Regions from separate parts of the Homo sapiens genome. Here region 1 is linked to region 2. Evidence: promoter capture Hi-C in 16 types of primary human blood cells and fetal thymus (Javierre and others, 2016). All regions are on one chromosome and are shown on one strand. The core of a region is centred on a gene start or on the middle of the fragment in contact, and the rest is flanking DNA. Distances in the headings are between cores, read along the strand shown.

The links. Contacts are between HindIII fragments. The CHiCAGO score rates a contact against its expected background, and 5 or more counts as called.
Region 1: a fragment that was not itself captured here is called in contact with the fragment with the promoter of FKBP10 in region 2 in 1 of 17 cell types (endothelial precursors); the score reaches 6.5 in endothelial precursors.

The regions. Positions count from the first base shown.
Region 1 is chr17:41,752,211-41,759,277 of GRCh38, forward strand. It overlaps JUP (junction plakoglobin), which reads right to left. Exons shown (of 14, transcript NM_002230.4): 9 at 6,505-6,660; 10 at 6,189-6,308; 11 at 5,424-5,574; 12 at 5,205-5,326; 13 at 3,965-4,004; 14 at 2,399-3,685. The coding sequence ends at 3,534. Among named protein-coding and RNA genes, the nearest start is that of HAP1, 21 kb to the left of the region's middle. The HindIII fragment of the contact is 3,009 bases long and covers 2,998-6,006 here.
Region 2 is chr17:41,807,273-41,814,313 of GRCh38, forward strand. FKBP10 (FKBP prolyl isomerase 10) reads left to right here and starts at 5,732. Exons shown (of 10, transcript NM_021939.4): 1 at 5,732-6,007. The coding sequence starts at 5,763. P3H4 (prolyl 3-hydroxylase family member 4 (inactive)) reads right to left here and starts at 4,677. Exons shown (of 8, transcript NM_006455.3): 1 at 4,182-4,677; 2 at 3,860-4,012; 3 at 3,591-3,762; 4 at 2,434-2,562; 5 at 587-732. The coding sequence starts at 4,643. RefSeq lists a silencer at 4,307-4,796 and an enhancer at 4,937-5,046. The HindIII fragment of the contact is 9,756 bases long and covers 3,367-7,041 here.

The sequences.
Region 1 (7,067 bases), core at 3,252-5,751, 56 kb before region 2:
GAGGTGGAGGTTGCGGTGAGCCAAGATTGCACCACTGCACTCCAGCCTGGGCAACAAGAGCGAAACTCTGTCTCAAAAAGAAAAAGAAAAAGAAAGAAAGGAAAGAAGGAAGGAAGGAAGGAAGGAAGGAGAGAGAGAGAAAAAGAAAAGAAAAGAAAGAAAGAAATTAACTGGCCTTAAGTTTCCCATTTTGGCCAGGCTGCCAGGAAGCTGACGGCCTACTGTGAAGCTCCAATCTAGCACTGCCCCTTAGCATGGGGACTTAGCTGTCTTTCTCTTGTCCTCAGCACCCGTCATGTGGCTTGAGCGAGCAGTCCTTTTCTGTGGGGTGCCTCCGGCCCTCTTTTGGAAAGCTGGGGTGGGGAAATGGCGTTAATGTGTCAGTTATCTATCTTCATTGGCTTCTCCAGACCTTTTCTCCACTCTGCACTGGGCGGTGGGAGATGACACGAATGGACGTGAATGGGCTCTTGTTTCTGCTTGGGCTGGGCCAGTAGGGAGCTCTGGTAGGAGGGAGCACGGTCACAGTCTCCCCTTGTCAGGAAGCCTCATCCACAGGGTCTTGTCCCAGGGAGCACCCCCTCTCCTCCCAGTATCAGGCCAGAGGTGAATATCACTATAAATAGCCCGGCACCCTGTCCTATCCCTTGCGCTTTCCTATACATGCCCACAGCTTTGTAAACTGTCCCCTTACCACAATCTCCTCAAATCACCCAATTCGAGTGTTTCCTGCCAGGGTCCTGAACACAGAGCACATATAAAGGGCATTGTTGGCTGGGGACGGTGGCTCACGCCTGTAATCCCAGTACTTTGAGAGGCTGAGGTGGGCAGAGAACCTGAGGTCAGGAGTTCGAGACCAGCCTGGCCAACATGGGTAAACCCCATCTCTACTAAAAACACAAAAATTAGCCGGCCAGGCACAATGGCTCACACCTATAATAGCACTTCGGGAGGCCGAGGTGGGTGGGTCACGAGGTCAGGAGATCGAGACCATCCTGGCTAACACGGTGAAACCCTGTAGTCCCAGCTACTCGGGAGGCTGAGGCAGGAGAATGGCGTGAACCTGGGAGGCGGAGGTTGCAGTGAGCCGAGATCGTGCCACTGCACTCCAGAGTGGGCGACAGAGCAAGACTCTGTCTAAAAAATAAATAAATAAATAAATAAATAATTAGTCAGGTGTGGTGATGCACGCCTGTAGTCCCAACTATTGGGGAGCCTGAGGCAGGAGAATCACTTGAACCCAAGAGGTGGAGGTTGTAGTGGGCCGCGATCGTGCCATTGTACTCCAGCCTGGGAGATAAGAGTGAAACTACTCTCAAAAAAAAAAAAAAAAAAAAAAAAAAAAACGCTGCGGGGTGGGCGTTGTTAAAAGATTTTTAGGTCTTCCAGAGCTCTGAAAACTCTGTCCCCTCCCTGCTGCCCCGGCTCTAGTCGGCAGAGCTCAGCTCTGTGTCTCATCACCTAGTGTCTGGACCTTACAGCCAGCCCTTAATTGGAAGCACCTCCCTGTCTCCAGCCCCAGCCCCACATCCCACCAATCCTCTGTGAATGAAGCCATGGCCTCCCTCCACTGCCCTGAGCTCCAGGTGGAGTAGAAAGAAGGCACTGGGCCCTGGGCAGGCACATAGGCACCACAGGTTCTCAGGTTTGCCGGGTGCATTGTAACCAGCACCTCCTCAGAAAGGAGAATTTGGGGTTGTGGGTGGGGGAACTGTCACATGAGCTAAAGGACAGACCAACGTGATGGGTGAAATGACAGTTGTGCACGGGGCATTGTGGAGCACAGCAGGAGGGGCACCCGCTCATCCCTGCTGGGGGCGGAGGTCGTGGAGCAGGTGTTTCTGGAGTCAGGTCTGAGCCGATCCCGGCAGGTGAACAGTGGAGGCACCCAGACAGTGGGAACAGCATGGACAAAGAACAGGAGGAGGCTGCTGGCTGTCACAGGCACGGCTAAGGGCAGAGTAGGTGGTGGGGGGAAGGAAGAGGGGAGGTGGGCAGGAGCTGGGGTGGGCCCACAGCTGACCAACAAGGGGCCTGGACCCAAAGCCATAAGCCTCGGGGAGCATTACGCACGGGGACATCTGCCATATTCACTTTAAGGCTGGACGGGAGGAGAGCCAGCCAGGAGCTTGCCTGTTTGAGAGAGAAACAAGGCCTGGCCTCCCGAAGTGAGGGACTCATCCCCATTCACCTCCTCCCCCGTCCTCGCCCTACAAGCGCATATTGGGTTAAATCCACTCCGGCTCCCCCAACACTCCTGGCTCCCCAGCTTGCCTCTTCTAGTCCTTCCCACATGCAAGGCAGCCCTGAGGACCCGCAGGACCCAGCAAAGAGGGCGCCAGGCCGCTAGGGAAGCCCCTCAACTTTCCCACCCCACTCCCCTAAACAGCCTCCAACGCATCTGTGTTATTTTTATTTTCTTTGCTTTGGTCTATACAAAAAAACCAATAACCAAAAACATAAAGCGATAATAATAAAACACTCTGCTTGGACCTCCCCCAGCCCCCCACACCATGTGCGGGAAATGGGGGGGTCTGAAACAGGAAGGGGAAGAGAAAGCCCCTCACCACACACCAGAGGGGTCAGCCAAGAGCACTTCTCGGGGTCAGCTAGGGCAGCTGTGTGGGTGGGACAGGGGTGTGAGGAAGCTGTCCCCAGAGCTCCCTGGGGAGTGAGGGGTGGGCAAAGCCAACTAAGCACCCTGGAGAGAGAAGCTGGCATCTTCTGGAGCAGGTGACTCACTCCATATCTCCTCCCCATCTCCCCTGGACGGTCCCTGAACTTTTCAAGAGAAGTTTTGGATTTTGGGGGTTTGGGTCTCGAACCTGGGCCCTGGAGGCCCTGGGGGCTTAGGGCAGTTGGTCGGTGGAGTTCAGTGAGAAAATCAGACCCAGAGAAGGAACCAAAGCCCTTCCGGGCCCAGGCAGCTGGAGACAGGGAGGCTGGAGGTTTGGAGGGGCGTTGCTGGGGGAAAACAGAATGGGTACTTGAGTCTGAAGCTTTAGTGGCCAGGGCCACAGGGGCGGGGAGGGGGTGTCAGGCCCTGGACCCATGCCCAGGACAGAAAAGCAGGAGCAGAACACTATCCCAAGAAAGACCCTACGGAGGACCTCTGGAGGCGCAGGGTGCAGCAGGAAGTTACACCCCGGCTTCCCCAGCTCAGGCACTTTTCTGTCTTGCCCCATCGCCTGCACGGAGAGCCTCTCAGATGAGGAACCGCACCTGTTAGGGGAGCGGGGACAGACAGGGGTCAGGGGCTCGGTGGACCTGCATCCCCAGAAGCTCAAGCCACTCCGTGTCACCTGCCCACCACCCCCAGAAGGGGCCAGCAGGAATAGGCCTCCCCATCCCCACCAAAGACACAAGAAGAAGGCAGGCCAGGGCACACCGTGCTTGGGGAAGCTCAGCAGCAAAGGATCCCCCCAAAAAAGGAGCGCAGGTTTCAGCGGGGAGATGGGAGGGCCTCCAACAGAAGGAGGTTCTAGAGAGGAGGAAAAGCCTGCAAAGAGGGGGCCGTACTGGGGCCAGGCCGCCTAGGCCAGCATGTGGTCTGCAGTGGGGTACGGGGGCCTGAGGCCGTCGCTGTAGGTGTCGATGGGGTAGTCTCCATCCATGTCCATGTGCATCTCCAGCGGGTCAAGGGGCACATCGCTGGAGTACATGGGGCGGTAGGTGGCATCCATGTCTGGGGACAAAAAGTGGGGCTCGGTCCTAGGGTCTGCAAGCTACCCTGCAGGGAGCAGTCTGCACAGCCTTCAGCTGCCTCCTCTACCCATGCCCACCCCTGGTGGGCCTGACCCCTCCCCAGACCCCACACCAGGGCATCTAGACTGGGGTACATGTGGATGCCACACAGCAGTTGCCACTGGTCCTCTGGCCCCGGAGACATAATATTGTCCCCTCACACACACCCACACAGCCGCCCAGGATCTCCAGGGTCCTGAAGAGCCCGGCACACACTTACCATCTCCATAGGGCTCATTGATGGGAATCATGCTCTGGGCCTGAAAAAGGAGAGAGAAACATGGAGGGGAGGTTTGAAAATGCAGGCTCCGAGCTGGATCTCAGCTGGTGGGCAGGGAGAGATGCTTCTAAAAGAGGGGGCCAGGCTGGGTGCCATGGCTCACGCCTGTAATCCCAGCACTCTGGGAGACAGCAGGCGGATCACTTGAGGTCAGGAGTTCCAGACCAGCCTGGCCAACATGGTGAAACCCTGTCTCTACTAAAAATACAAAAAAAATTAGCTGGGCGTGGTGGTGCAGGCCTGTAATCCCAGCTACTCGGGAGGCTGAGGCAGGAGAATTGCTTGAATGGGGAGGCAGAGGATGCAGTGAGCCGAGATTACACCATTGCACTCCAGCCTGGGCGACAGGAGTGAGACTCTGTCTCGAAAAAAATAAAAAATAGGCTGGGCGCAGTGGCTCACGCCTGTAATCCCAGCACTTTGGGAGGCCAAGGCGGGCGGATCACAAGGTCAGGAGACAATCGAGATCATCCTGGCCAACATGGCGAAACCGCGTCTCTACTAAAAATAGAAAAATTAGCCGGGTGTGGTAGCGTGCACCTGTAGTCCCAGTTACTCAGAAGGCTGAGGCAGGAGAATTGCTTGAAACCGGGAGGCGGAGGTTGCAGTGAGCCAAGATCACACCACTGCACTCCAGCCTGGCGACAGAGCAAGACTCCATCTCAAAAAATATAAAAATAAATAAATAAATAAAAGAGGGGGCTGGAGAAAAGCAAAGAGGCCTTGGAGGAATAGAGGATGATGAAATGGGGTCACCCAGTGCCCTGATATACTCATGTCCTCGGTACTCCCCAGGGAGGAGGGTTCCCCACTCATGAAGCAGGGACTCCTGCCGGACTAGAGCAGCTCAGGGGAGGAGGCAGAGGACTCAAGAATGGGTACAGGGCACTGCCCCACCCTGGAAAAGACCGCCCATAGCCTATCCAGCACCTCCACGCAAATTACAAAAAGGCACCCCCACCTCAAACACTGTATACTCATTTGGGCAAAATAAAAATTGGCATTTTGTGGATATATGATTCAACCCACTACTTCCATCTGCTAGGAATTGTTATAAATGATCCAATTACAAAATAAAAATCTATGAAGTTGACAGTAGTAGGAGACCCCCAAAAGTGTTGCCCATGGGCAGTGCCCAACTTGCACAACCAACTACTGTGGTCCAACCTAGGATACTCACAGCCTCCCAGGCAGCCGGGTCATGCTTGAAGAGGGAGTTGGTGAGCTCCACGGACACGCGCTTCCGGTAGTCTGGGTTCTTGTCCTCGGAGATGCGGAACAGGACGGCAGCAGCGTAGGTGGCTGAGCAGAGAGGAAAGGAAAAGCCAGGTTAAACGTCGGCCAGCCTCCATCGTGGCTGGGGGAGTGGGACCCAGCCTCCTGCCCTCCCCCAGCTCACCAGTGCCCTCGTTGCGGGAGTGCAGCAACTCCATGAGTGGGGCCGAGGCCCCCTCTGCATCAATGGCGTCGGCCGCCTCCTTGTCCTGGGCCAGCTCACACAGCACCCCGGCAGCCACGCGCTGGATGTTCTCCACCGACGAGTACAGGAGCTGGGGAGAGGGGACGTGGGAAGCAGGGGAGAGGTGGAAAGGGGTGAGGCAGGCCGGACAACACACCCCACAGCACTGCCCACCTCCACCCTGTAGCAATTCCATAGTGGAAAATGGGCCGTCACTGGGGAGTAAGTGTTACTGCTTTAAACTGGGCTGAGCATTGTTCATGAGCTACCTTGAAATTACCTGTGACTCTGCCTCATCTAACCATTGGAATCTAGTGTTAATGAGCTCACTGATGTGAAAGATGTTAGACTCTTCTTGTCTGTTATGGTACTTGCACATATTCTCCCAGTTTGCTGATTTTTTAAAAATGCTTTTTTAGGTTCTTTCTGAAATACAGATGGTTTTCATGTTTATATGGTTGAATCTCAAGTTTTTTTGTTTTTTGTTTTTTTTTTCCATTTGTGATCTCTTTCCTTGCTTTGAAGCTTAGAAAGCCATGCCCATGCAGGGGGTTGCTAAGTAGTCAATCTGGAGTGGCAACTTTCCTCCAAACTCCTCCAAAGACCTCTTGATACCTGGTCCAGGCCTCCCAAATCTGGGACTCCTAACCTTGCCCTTTAAGCAGTGGTGGGGGGACCTCTCCTGCCCACCTGCCCCAGACTCACCTGCACAAACAGGGGAATGGTGTTGAGCCGGAAGATCTCCATGCGGTTCATGGGGTCCCGGGCGAGGATGTGCAGTGCTCCGGTGCAGCCCTCCACAATCTCCTCCATCCTCACACCATCCTGTGTGAGAGGAGGCAGGGGGCATGGGACAGGTGCCTTGGACATGGCCACAACTCCTCCCCATGACAGCCGAATGAACTTCACAGGTTCTTGGAATTGGCATCAGTTGCAACTGACCTCCCCATTCACACACACACCCACAGAGGACACCCTGACCCCCCAGGAAGGCTGTCAGAGGCACCACCAGCTCACATACCGTGTAGGGCTGCTGTGTGCCTGCAGCTACGTGGCGCTGGGCATCCTGGTGGGCCTTCACCAGCAGTTGGACGAGGCGGGGGATGACCGCTGCCTCCTGCAGCGGGGCATGGTTGGCTGGGCACAGGGCCAGATTCCTGATCAAGCCGATGGTTGCCTGGCAAAAAAAGGGGCAGTGATCAGGGGCACTTCTTGGACATCTGAAGGATCCCAGCTTCCCAGCTTCAAGTATCCCTTCCCTCCTTCACCTCTTCTGTCCCCGAGGCCAGACACAGACATACTGGAAAATATCCAGAGAAGGAGACCATCCCAGCCATGTCACTTAATCCACAGGATCTGGGAGTGCTCATGGCTAATTCTTTTTTTTTTTTTTTTTTGAGACAGAGTTTCGCTCTTGTCACCCAGGCTGGAGTGCAGTGGTGCAATCTCACCTCACTGCAACCTCCACCTCCTGGGTTCAAGCGATTCTCCTGCCTCAGCCTCCTGAGTAGCTGCGATTACAGGTGCCTGCCACCATGCCCAGCTAATTTTTTGTATTTTTAGTAGAGACGGGGTTTCGCCATG
Region 2 (7,041 bases), core at 4,482-6,981:
TGTGTACCTTCATACCTCCCTCGTCTGGACACTGCTGGTGAGGTGGCAGTATCACTGCCATTTTGCAGGTGAGGCAATAGATTAGGAAAGGGCCATGGTCTTCCCAGGACCACACAGCAGTGGGGCTGGGCTCTGAAGCCAGGACTCTAACCTCAACTCATATTCTTTCTTTCCATTTCCCATCCTGCCTTCCATGGAAGCCAGGAGTTTATTTTTTATTATTTATTTATTTATTTTTCTTTTGAGACGGAGTCTCGCTCTGTCACCCAGACTGGAGTGCAGTGGCGCGATCTCCGCTCACTGCAAGCTCTGCCTCCCAGGTTCACGCCATTCTCCTGCCTCAGCTTCCCGAGTAGTTGGTACTACAGGCGTCCACCACCATGCCTGGCTAATTTTTTTTTCTTTTCAGTAGAGACGGGGTTTCACCGTGTTAGCCAGGATGGTCCTGATCTCCTGACCTCGTGATCCACCCGCCTCAGCCTCCCAAAGTGCTGGGATTACAGGCATGAGCCACCGCGCCCGGCCGCCAGGAGTTCATTTTTTACAAAGTGCATATCCAGCAAGTGCCCCAGAAAGCAGTGCCCACCTCCCGGGGCTGGAAGTCCTCCTCTTCCAGGCCCCAGCGAGCCCGGTGGAACCGGTAATACACCAGGTTCTGCTGCATGACGCTGTCCTTGGGGTCGAAGAGCATGTAGCTGGCGGCGCTGCGGGCAGCCTGGCGCACATCATTCACTGCAGCAGGACAGGGGTGAGGAATTGCTCTGGCACTTCCCCTTCAGAGTCAACTCCATCTTCCAGTTCAGTCCAGCACCCCTGCTACCCAGCCACCTCCCAGAATACCTAATGGGCTCCTTATCCCACCCAAGCATAATGCCAGCTAGCATGTAGTGGGCACTTACCCTATGCCAGGCCCTGACTAACTCATCTAAGCCTCACTGTTATTGTCTTTTTATTGTTTTTGAAACAGGGTCTCACTCTATCACCCTGGCTAGAGTGCAGTGGTGCAATTATGGTCACCTCAAGCTTGATCTCCCAGGCTTAGGTGATCCTCTCACCTCAGCCTCCTGAGTAGCTGGGATTACAAGCAGGCACCACCACACCCATCTAATTTTTTGTATGTTTTTGTTTGTTTTGAGACAGGGTCTTGTTCTGTCACCCAGGTTGGAGTGCAGTGGTGTGATCTCGGCTCACTACAGCCTCTGCCTCCTGGGCTCAAGCAATCCTCCCACCTCAGTCTCCCCAGTAGCTGGGACTACAGGCACGCGCCACCATGCCTGGCTAACTTTTTGTATTTTTTGTAGACACGGGGTCTTGTCATGTTGCCCAGGTTGGTCTCGAACTCCTGGGCTCAAGCCATCTGCCTGCCTGGGCCTCCCAAAGTGCTGGGATTACAAGTGTGAACCACTGTGCCCAGCCATGCCTACCTATTACTGTCATCCCCATTTTACAGTCAAGAAATCTGAGTCACAGAGAGGTTAGATAAATTGCTCAAGCTCACACAGCTGGAGAATGATGGCTCTAGTGAATTAGAGGCCCTTAGCCTCTCTGCTATGTGTACCCAGGAAGGGTCTCCTGGCCCCTGGGTTCTCAGCCCCTCTGCTCTGACTCCTGGCTCTGTCTGAATCTTGGCATCTCCGAGCTGCAGGAACACTGGAGGCTGTCCATTCCAGCCCCAGTGGATGCCAGGATCTCTCCAGTGAGGAGAGCCACAAGTCCTGGTGCCACTTTTTATTAGTCATAAGACCAACAGCCCCTTGCCCTATAAGCCTCAGTTTCCCCATCTGAAAAATCGGTCCAGTAATGCCAGCTGCATGGTGTTGGTGAAAGGACCACATAAGATAAAGTGACTTATAAACTCTCAAGTGTTGGCCGGTCATGGTGGCTCATGCCTATAATCCCAGCACTTTGGGAGGCTGAGGCAGTGGATCACCTGAGGTCAGGAGTTCAAGACCAGCCTGGCCAACATGGTGAAACCCCGTCTCTACTAAAAATACAAAAACTAGCTGGGTGTGGTGGCAGGCACCTATAATCCCAGCTACTCAGGAGGCTAAGAGAATCACTTGAATCCGGGAGGCAGCGGTTGCAGTGAGCCGAGATCGTGCCCCTGCACTCTAGCCTGGGCAAGAGTGAAACTCCGTTTCAAAAATAAAAATAAACTGTCAAGTGCTCTGCAGTTGTTGGTTGTCTAGTCATTTGCCCAAAAGACCCTCTTCTTCTCCCTGAGGCTGCTGTCTGTTCTCACTCAGAAGCCTCTCACCTGCCCCAGACTCCCAGGGTGCCTTCCCCATATTCCCACCACCCCTAGACTTTCCTCCTATCACCCAGGGTCCTCAATACTGAAGGAAAGCTCCCCACAACTCTGGGAGGCTCCCATACAGTCCTCTCCCTTATCACCTCGTCCCCTGCCCAAGCCAGCCCACCCAGGGGGCTCACACTTATAGTAGGCAAACTGCAGGTAGTGGTACATGGTGGCCACGAACTTGTCCACGAAGTAGCCACCCACATTGGGGGTCAAATTGGCCTCACAGTCCACCTTGCACTGCAGGGACTCTGCAAAGAGATCTGAGGGTGGGAGGCAGCAGTGAGAGGCTGGCATTGCAATGAACATCTCCGTCCCCCCAGTGGAGAAGACTCTAAATCCAATCTCTGCCTACTAAGCCAAGCTGCTTGTCCAGAAAATGTGTTGCTGTTGCAATCACAGGAGAGAATGTCTGTAAAGTGCTTGGCATACTATATGACAAGTGATGGTGAGGAAGATGACTGTGGGCTGGGCTGACTCACCACCCCTGCCACTCAACCACCACCCCAAGCCAGAGGGAGCCAGGGCATTCTGGGAGAGCAGCAGGTGAGGTCCAGAAATGGGGCAGAAGTCCAAACAGAGAAGCTAAAGGACAGTCTTTTTTTTTTTTTTTTTTTTTTGAGACAGAGTCTCGCCCTGTCGACCAGGCTGGAGTGCAGTGGCGCGATCTGGGCTCAATGCAACCTCCGCCTCCCAGGTTCAAGCGATTCTCCTGCCTCAGCCTCCCGAGTAGCTGGGATTACAGGTGCCCGCCACCACGACCAGCTAATTTTTGTACTTTCAGTAGAGACGGGGTTTCACCATGTTGGTCAGGCTGGTCTTGAACTCCTGACCTCGTGATCTGCCTGCCTCGGCCTCCCAGAGTGCTGAGATTACAGGTGTGAGCCACCACACCTGGCCAAGTACAGTCCTTTCTGCCCCTGCTCGAGGGACCCCAGGGTTAGAGATCCCAAGACTAGGTGTAATTTCTGGTTATCAACTGCTTTCTGCACACATCTGCTGGGTTACTTCTCACCGCTGCACCTTTGCATCTGCACTGCCCTCTGCCTGGAAGGCCTATGAACCCAAGCTTCCCAAACCCTTTAGGGATGTCACTGCCTCTACTCACTGATCCAGCCCCTTGGACACTCCCAGCTGGGGCCCCTGCACCCAGCGTCTTTCTCAACAGACAAGGCCTTCCTCCCGGCTGGCTCCTCCGCATTCGCAGTGCTCCACGTGCATGAAGGGGACATCTGCCTTACCGGGCCCTGTGGGTGAGAGGACCGCCCACCGTGGTCTGGGTGGCAGATACCTGCTATGGCCGGGTAGAAGTCCTTGAAGTCCACCTGCTCATGGGCCCCTTCACAGCCGGCCAGGCACCGGGCAAAGACTGCCAGGTACTCTGACAAGGCCCGCTCCATGTCCTCCGTGCTGCTGCGGAAATCCCCGCTGTTGTAGAGCTTCACAGCCCGGAGGAACACGGCCTGGAAGGGGCGTGGCAGGGGGAGTCAGGGCGCCCCCAACATCTCCCCTCCTCTACTAGCCCTCCTCTACAAGCCTCCTCCTGACCCTCCACCCCACCTCGTAGGGCTGGGCCTCTAGGTCCGTGAGGGACTCGTCGGCGACGTCCAGCATCCCCTGATAGTAGTTGAGATACTTGGCGGTCAGCTCGTGCTTCGGGTTCCTCTGGAGGAAGGTGTAGGCCGCCGCCACCGCCTTCTCCAGCCGGTTAGCCTGGTCGGGGGGTAGGGGGTGGGGGAGCGGGTCAGCAAGACCGGAGCTCGCGGCCCCGAGCGCACGGCGGGCTTCGTGCCTTGGGTGAAGATAACGCTCCTTCGACCGATCTGTGGGGAGCCACGACGCCCAGCCCGAGACAGGTCCCCGGGTGGGGGCGGGCTCCCACCTTGAACAGCGCGTAGTGCAGGTACTGGTAGGGCAGGCGGCTCTGGAAGTCACGCAGCAGCTGCCGCGGCGGGTAGGGCACCTGGAAGGCGGGCAGCGTCCGCTTGCAGCGCCGCAGGCAGGCGGCTCGCTCCAGGACGCGGCCGAAGAGCCGCAGCTCGCAGGCCCACTCGTCTGCGCGGCCGCCGTCGGGATCGGGCTTGGCCGCGGGCGCGGGGCCGCTGCAGTTGGCGTGGCAGAAGGCCTCGCTGTCGCGCAGGAGCCGGTGCAGCCGCAGCGCCGCCTCCAGGTAGCGCGCGCTCTCGCGCCAGCTCTCTCCCTCGTACTGCTCCAGAGCGTGCCCGTACGCCGCGGCCAGCGGCATCAGGTCCTCGGGCGGGAAGCCCCGGAAGCTGTACTTCTCGTACTGCGCCCCGGCGCTGCCCAGCAGCAACCACAGCAGCCCCCACGCCACCCGAGCCATGCCCGCCGCGCCGCCGGCTCTCCGGAGCTGAGCTGGCTGCCCCGCGGACGGAAGGGGACAGGGCCGGGCCCCGGGCGGGCGGCGCGCCCGCTGGGTCTTAGCGCCGGGCACGAGGCGGCAAGGTGGGGCGGGGCCTGGGTCACGACGTCTCCCCTCTTTTCCCAGAGGGTCCGATAGTGTCGTTAAGTCCTCTCCGTCGGCCCGGGCTCCTGCCTTGGGGGTGTCCCCTAGGTAGAGAATGCGTCGGGGAGCGCTTCCCGCCAGAGATGGGAAGCCCAGGAAGCCCCTCCCCATGCAAACAGTGCCCCCGCCTGAGATCAGGACACTGAGTGAGGGCCGCCTCCTCTGCGCTGCCCATACGAGAAGGAAGCCCTGGAGCCGGGCCTTCCGTCGCTGCGCCCTCCTGCACCCTCCGAGTGTCTCCCCCGCCCACGTCGGAGGCACACACCTGCTGTCACCTGCACACCTTGCGCTGCCACCACCCCCCACTCCATCTCCGTGCCCGTCACATCCCAAGTCACAAAGTCCTTCTTTCAGTCCAGCTTTTGCGGGACCAAGCTGCTCTTCCCTGGAGATGCCTTCCCTTGGAGTACAGCTGGGGTCACGGATGAGCACGGAGATGCCTCTCACACTCCGCGGCTTCACCACCCACCTGGAGGGGACTAGAATTCGAAGTGCCCGCGAAAGAAGCAAGGTTCATCTCCGCCCGGCTTTAGGACCCGGGGGCTCCGGAAAAAGTCATTGAACTTTTTTTTTTTTTTTTCCTTTGGTGTCCACTCAGAGTTCTCATCTTTCCCGAGCCTCTCTCCCTGGCCAGGCCCCAGGTCTCGCAGCCAGGGATGGAGATGGGGGGAGGGGGAACCTAGAGTTCTTTGTAGTGCCTCCCTCAGACTCTAACACACTCAGCCTGGCCCCCTCCTCCTATTGCAACCCCCTCCCCCGCTCCTCCCGGCCAGGCCAGCTCAGTCTTCCCAGCCCCCATTCCACGTGGACCAGCCAGGGCGGGGGTAGGGAAAGAGGACAGGAAGAGGGGGAGCCAGTTCTGGGAGGCGGGGGGAAGGAGGTTGGTGGCGACTCCCTCGCTCGCCCTCACTGCCGGCGGTCCCAACTCCAGGCACCATGTTCCCCGCGGGCCCCCCCAGCCACAGCCTCCTCCGGCTCCCCCTGCTGCAGTTGCTGCTACTGGTGGTGCAGGCCGTGGGGAGGGGGCTGGGCCGCGCCAGCCCGGCCGGGGGCCCCCTGGAAGATGTGGTCATCGAGAGGTACCACATCCCCAGGGCCTGTCCCCGGGAAGTGCAGATGGGGGATTTTGTGCGCTACCACTACAACGGCACTTTTGAAGATGGCAAGAAGTTTGATTCAAGGTAACCCCGGTTGGGCGCCCCCGGATTCACCACTCCGTCCCCTGAACCCGGGGTCCTGTTTCCTTGTTGCCTCTTTTAAGCTCTGCATCCCAATACTCTAACCCTAGACAGCACCCCTGGGGCCTCCCAGACACCCATCTCCCCAAAGATACCCTCCTGCCCCCACTTCCAAACCCTCACTTCTCAAAGGATCCCATTTCTTTCTCACAAGCTCTCCACATCCCGGAAAGGACTCGATAATCAAGGTGAACTGCCTTGTGTAGTTACCAGGGCTGTATGTAATGACCTGATGGAGAGGGGTGTTCTGATCTACAGTGTTGGGGGGAAGGGGGTGGTCCCTGCTGCTTAAGAACCCTGGGATGGTCTATCAGCCTGGACCCCGTACCTTTCCACCCACCCTGACTCCCCTTCTGGTTCCACTGTTTTCAGTGCCTTTGTGGTCAGAGAAGAGGGAATAGAACTTTTTTTTGGAGGGGGTGGGAGTTTTCAGCGGCTGGTGGGCAGGGAAAAAGGCTGGTGGGTATTATAAGAAGACAGCCGGCTGGACCTGGGGGTAGCGCGTGGCTCCCTGCGGAGGCCCTGTCTACGTGTCACACAGTCGGACATGCCACCCTGGGCTCCTTGGAGGAATTTCATTCCTCCCTCTCTGGTTCTCCTGGAACCCTCATCTCTCTCCATTTTAGGTACACCAGGCCAGAGGCACAGGCCGCCCATTTTTGCCAGCCTTGGGGTTTGTAAGGTGGCCTCCTGGTCTGACCCAGGCCTTTGGTCTGCCCCAGCAAGTCCACTTTTGTTAGCGGGGACAGGGCAGGGCTGTATGCCAGCCTCAGGGGTAAATCTAGGGTCCCAGTTACACACAGACCCCACAGCACACTGAAAGAAGTCAGTGTTTCTTAGACCCTCCTCTGAAACACACAACTCAGCCCACAGGAAATTAGTGGCCATGACTTTAGAGGCAGGCATATATTGGGGTAAGCCTACAAACTCCAAGAGTCCCAAGACCCTGGTTCAAATCCAGGCTATGACCATGGACA